Regions from separate parts of the Homo sapiens genome. Here region 2 is linked to region 1. Evidence: promoter capture Hi-C in human tissues and cell types (Jung and others, 2019). All regions are on one chromosome and are shown on one strand. The core of a region is centred on a gene start or on the middle of the fragment in contact, and the rest is flanking DNA. Distances in the headings are between cores, read along the strand shown. Region 1 holds the start of C1QL1 (complement C1q like 1). Region 2 holds the start of GJC1 (gap junction protein gamma 1).

What was found. The method cuts DNA at HindIII sites, captures the fragments that hold promoters and counts their contacts. A contact is called where the count stands out against the background at its distance.
Region 2: the fragment with the promoter of GJC1 here is called in contact with the fragment with the promoter of C1QL1 in region 1 in 1 of the 25 tissues and cell types used here (thymus).

What each region holds. Positions count from the first base shown.
Region 1 is chr17:44,966,870-44,969,620 of GRCh38, forward strand. It overlaps C1QL1 (complement C1q like 1), which reads right to left and starts at 1,434. Exons shown (of 2, transcript NM_006688.5): 1 at 583-1,434. The coding sequence starts at 1,179. RefSeq lists a silencer at 1,365-1,724. The HindIII fragment of the contact is 17,092 bases long and covers 1-2,751 here.
Region 2 is chr17:44,828,898-44,831,648 of GRCh38, forward strand. It overlaps GJC1 (gap junction protein gamma 1), which reads right to left and starts at 1,390. Exons shown (of 3, transcript NM_005497.4): 1 at 1,165-1,390. RefSeq lists a silencer at 703-992 and enhancers at 1,048-2,021, 2,022-2,751. The HindIII fragment of the contact is 21,747 bases long and covers 1-2,751 here.

The DNA.
Region 1 (2,751 bases), core at 184-2,683:
GGATTTTGCAAAGGGTGTCAGATTCGCCCAATGGTCCCTTCTCCAGGGCAGGGGAGGCACTGCAGCCAGGGCTGTAAGCACCGGGCTCCCTTTGCCTTTGTGCCCCAAACATTTCCTGCAGCCAGCCTTCTCCGCTCGCGCCCATGGCCACGCGCCTAGGCGCCCGCGGGCGCGGATGCTGCTTCTCCCTGTTCCATACGCCAGAGCCCATCCTTGCCCTCCCCTTATCGCCCACTGCTGTCGGCCCGAATCCACTTCCCAAGGGGCAAGCCCCCAAGGGCAAGTCCGTGCACCTGGGAGCCCTGCGCTCTGACTAGTTGGGTTCATTTCCCGCATTTCCAGTAGCGTTCCAGACGGTGCCCAGCAGCGTCTGTCTTGGAGCGGGAACCCAGGAACTGAGGATCGGCGATGTCCGCTGGCTCCGACCATCCCCACACGTGATGACCAAGCGGGGCCGCTGTGGGGTGGGATCTCCACCTGCGTCCGCCTGGCGCCCCCGCCAACTCCGATCAGGTACCCATTTGCCCCGGGCTCCCTGGGTGCCCTGGGCCCAGCCCAGCCCCATGCCCCCGCCTGGCCCACCTGGCCATTCTTGCAGAGGTCTGCCCACATACTGGTGCCGTCGCCGCCGCGCATGAGGACATGGTAGGTGAAAAAGTAGGTGCCGGGAATGTTGCACGTAAACTTGCCGCTGGCCGCGTCGTAGTTGTTGCCTAGGTTGGTGACCACGTCGTCAAACTTGAGTACCTCGTAACCCTCGTGGGGGTTCTTGAGGCCGGCGTAGAAGGCCACGCGCGGCACCGTGGTGTAGGTGGCAGTGCTGATGGCGCCGCTGCCCCCCGCGCCCGGCAGCCCCGGAGGGCCCGGCTTGCCTGGCTCACCCTTCTCCCCCGGCGGCCCCACAGGGCCGGGAGGACCTGGGTCCCCGGGAGGCCCCGGAGGGCCGGGCTTGCCGGTGCGGCCCGGCTTCCCCTGGGGGCCCTGCACCAGCGTGGAAGGCGGGGGCGCGCCGCTCTGCTCGCTCAGGGCGTCGCCGCCGTCGGTCCGCGCGCCGGCGCCGGGGCCCCGCGCGGGGTAGGGGTCGCACACCATGCGGCAGGTGCCCAGCATCTCATAGTGGCCTTCCGGGCCGCCCGAGCTCACCAGCACGGGGATGAGCACCACCAGCACCAGCAGCATCACCACACCCGCGGCGGCCGCTAGCAGCGTCTTTCGGCCCGCGCGGAGCCTGGGGAGCGCCGGGCCGCCCGGCCGCGCCGTCGGGGCAATGGTGCCGGCGGGCAGGGGGCGCGGGCTAGGCGCCCGCGCTCAAGGACGGTCCGGCGGGGCTGCGGGCATGGGGCCGGGCCCGGGGCGCCGCGCTGCGCTGGCTGCGCTGCGGAGCCCAGCCGCCGGCTCCTGCCTCGCGCCTCCCTCCTGCTGCGCTGCCGGACTGAGCGCCGCGGCCGCCGCCTCCCGCCTCCCGCCTCCCGCCTGCAGCCTCCCGCCTGACTCCTCCCGCCTCCTTGAGCCGGGCCACCGCCCCCTCGGCCGGGCCCCGCCCCGCCAGCTCCGCGCGGCTCTGGGCTCTCTAGGGGTGGGGCTGCGGGCGGGGCCGGCGCCTAATTGGGCCGCGGGCGCCTCGAGGTGGGCGGGGCATAAGGGGGCGGGGCCGCGGAGACCCCGGGCGGGAGCAGGGAGAGGAAAGAAGAGACTGAGTACGCGGAGACCGAGATTCGGAAATGGGGTGGGGGCCGGGGTCCGAGAGACCCGAGAGGCGCTCCAAGGGAAGGGGAGAGTAGGGACCAAAATGCGAAAGGGAGAGAGGGCCACAGGGAGAGCTAGAGAGCTCCGAGGGGATCGGGAGAGGAGAGGCTTCGAGGGTCGGTCACCAGGAAAACAGAGGGACTGGGGTCGCGACGGGCCAAGACCCGCAGGGGGCGGAAGCGAGGGGATAGCGCCCAGGTCTGCAGGGGACAAAGAGCGATTGAGGGGAGGACGGAGCGGGGAGCTGGAAGGTAGGATGAGAAAGGGGGTTATGAAGCGAAGAAGAGGATACGGAGGGGACCATTTGGCACTCAGGCCTCGCAGACCACCCGTCTGGGAGATCCAGATATCGGATGAATGCCTGTCCGGGGGCCCAGCGGAGCCAGACGGCAGCCGCCTCCTCCTTTCTGGATCTGACTGTTCCGGGACCCGTCTCCCCCGAGGTGGGGCAGGAGCTTCCAACCCCTCCTCGCCTCTGCCCCTTCCTCACCGAACTGTGGCCAGGCTGCTTTTTCCTGGGCCCTTTTCTTCCATCTCCCTCTGCTCAATCCCTTTACTTCTGCCTCTAGACCAGGGAGAAAAGGGGATCCTAAAAAGGTGGGCACCCCCACGTTATTTCTCCATGCTGACAGATGCAAATACGTCCCTGAGGGGTAACCCCCTTTTCCAGCCTCCAGGATGAGGGGTGGATCTCATCCAGCCCCTCAGCTCCTCCTCCCTCACTCCCCAGCCTCCTCCGCCGCCCCCTAACTCTTCTCCCCATCAGGCTGTGGGAGGCTCTCCTCTTCCTCAAGTGCAGCAAAGTGTTTAGGTTGCATAAACCGAAACGTGTCTGCTTCCATCAAAATATTTGTCACATTATCTGAGGCCCAGGTCGGGCTGCTCCACCGCTCCTCCTTCGCCCTCCTTTATCCGGCCCACCGGGGAGGATTCAGCCATTCGGAGGCGACTGGCCGGCTGCTAAAGAATGACATCCCAGCCTCTCCTCTCCCGAGAGCTACCCCC
Region 2 (2,751 bases), core at 140-2,639, 140 kb before region 1:
ATATTAAAGTACTGGAGATATGCTGTTTCCTGCTTATCAGGAAATTAAAATCCCTTTCATTTATGTAGTTTGATTTTTTATAGCGCTTTCACATATATTCACTTGAACGTATACACGACACAAACATATAACAAATTTAGACTTATCAGGCATACAAGATGACCCTCAGCCTGAACTTATTCAAACTTAACTTACTCGATTTCACATCGTCTTGATGCTAACAAAATTAAGCATGAGCATAATGAAATCGGTATCACTGCCAGTTCTCAATGAACAAAAAGAAAACCAAATTCGCCCATTTCGCAAAGGAAAAGTACTCCCAATCAGACAATCGCAAAAAAAAGAACAAAATCTAAACCATACATTCACGTACATCTTTTCAACTCAGAGCTCCAAACGCAGCCGCCAACCACACAACTGCCCACAATCACAGCGGTAGCGCCTACTCTTAATTTTGAAGCTAGAGACTTAAGGAAACACACACACACACAAAACAGTTCTCAAGTTTGACAAAGTGGGGGAAAAGTCATTTTAAGTAAAGACAACGAGTTAATCAGGAGGCGATGAGCCCAGTCCTTCCGCCCCGCTTTCCCGCTTCCAGCCCTCGAACGAACCCTCCTCTAACCCCCGGGAGGCAGGAGTTCCAGCGGGGAGATGCGGGAAGCCTCAGACGAGCCCGCACGCCGCCGGAGACGCAGGGATCGAGGTCGGGGAGACAAAGAGCAGCCCGCGAAGAGCCCGGGCGGCGAGGGGCGGCCCGGCTCCGCCCTGCGCCCCTAACCGCCCGGGTAGTTGTCGGCACCGCCGGGGCGCCGCCGAGTGCGCGCCGCTTCTGTCCGGGCTCCCCGACCGTCGCCCGACACCTCCGCGGCCCAGGACACCCCCGAGCCGTTTCCCTCCCGATTTGGGAGCCGCGCGCCTGGGGACAAAGAGGGAGGGTGCGCCGGGGACAGTGGCAGGACGCGGGCCGGCGACGCCCCTCCGGACTCGGCGGGAACCCCTCGGCGGCGCCCCCCTCCTTCTCCCGCTCTGGCCGCGCTCCTCCCCGGACCTCCGGAGGTTCTCCTCGGCCCCTCCCCGGGCTCCCCAAGAGTTCTCCCGCCTCCCCCTGGGACCCCGCCCCTGGCCCGCTTCTCCTCAGCCGGCCCTGCGGCCGCCCCTCACCCGGCGGCGGGTTCCCCCGGAGCCGCCTCCTCCGCCGGGCCTCGGCCCGTCCCGCCGGTCGCGGCCTCATGTGCCCCGCGTCGCCATCGCCTTCACCCTCGCCTCTCCTCCACCTCCTCCGCCGCTGCCGCCTTCGCCTCAGTCTCCAGCCGAGGCAGAAGCCGCTCCCGCCGCTGCCGCCGCCGCCGCCGCCTCCCGCTCCCGCCGCCGCGACCCGCGGGAAGGCGCCTGCGCACTGCGCGCTGCGGTGGGGGCGGGGGCGTCCCGCCGCGGCCCGGGAGCGGGGGGCGCGCGGCACGTGGCGCTCGAGTGGGAGGGGGGCGCCCCAGAACGCGCGGGAAGCGACGCGAGCGCCAACTTTCCGCGGTCGAGTCCTCGCCGCTCTCTCGGATAGTCCGGGACGCGGCGGAGGCGCGGCGCGCGTGGGAGTCACCCGCGTGGAGTCTGGACCCCGGGTGGGCGCAGACTTCGCTCCGGACAGTTCATTCTTCCAAGCTGATTTTCGGGCGAGAGTCCCCCGCCAGCCGCGCCTCAGTTTGAGCGGGCCGCTAACGGCGCCGTGGGTTCTCGCCTTACCTGGGTATCCTGGGTTGGTTTAGCGGGCCCAGAGTTGTCTTCTGCGCGCTCCGCCGAGGCCTTGGTCCATTGTAGCACGGGATGCTAATGTCTCCTCCCAGGTTCTGCTCTACAATTCCTCGAGGATCTGGCGGGCCCTGCGTGGATCTAGCTAGAGTCGGGGCTCTTAGCAGTGCTCTAGATACTTTTCAGGTCCTGAACTTCTCGGATTAGCAAGACCCTAATAGGCTATTTCCTCTTAACTCTTTGCATCCCAGCAGGATCCCATTCAGAGGACTTGGGAAAAATTTTCATGCATAGGAATCCCCAGTTTTAAAATGCCCAGTAGGAAACCGAAAATTCTCCAAATGCTTTAAGTAGAGTAAGACTTTGGGTAATAAAGGAAGGCTCAGTAAAGAGATGGGCGACCTCTGGAATGATCTCATCTGAGCATCAGAATGCCGATGGACAGGCTTTTATTATTTTGCCCTTTTGACCAGAGGGGAAATTAAGCGCTAACAAGTGAGGTTACTTGCTGCAAGTCAAACTCCCCCACCCAAAGCCAAGCCCTAAGGGGTAGCCCCAGAGTGGAAATCTTGAAGGCTAGGCATCTAATGCACTGACCAGTTTTGTGTGGCCAGTATGTTTTCCAAAAATATGAATTAGTTACCAAAATATTAAAATCCAGATTTCTGGCCTCCCTAAAAAGTCAAAAGCTGCTTACTTTGAGCTTCTCTTTTCACATGGCAGCTCCTCTTGAGTCACCTTGTCCGGGTAGGCAATGTCCCCACTCAGCTGCTTAAATCATTTCATGACCTGCTTGGCCTCGGAGCATTTAAGTACTTCTCCCTGTGATTGCTGTAGTCTGTCCCCACGCCTTATCACATTGCCTCTCTACAGATGTATTTAAAATGACAAGTGTGGGATGGGCGCGGTGGCTCACGCCTGTAATTCCAGCACTTTGGGAGGCCTAGGCAGGCGGATTGCTTGAGCCCTGGGGTTCCAGACCAGCCTGGACAATATGGCAAAACC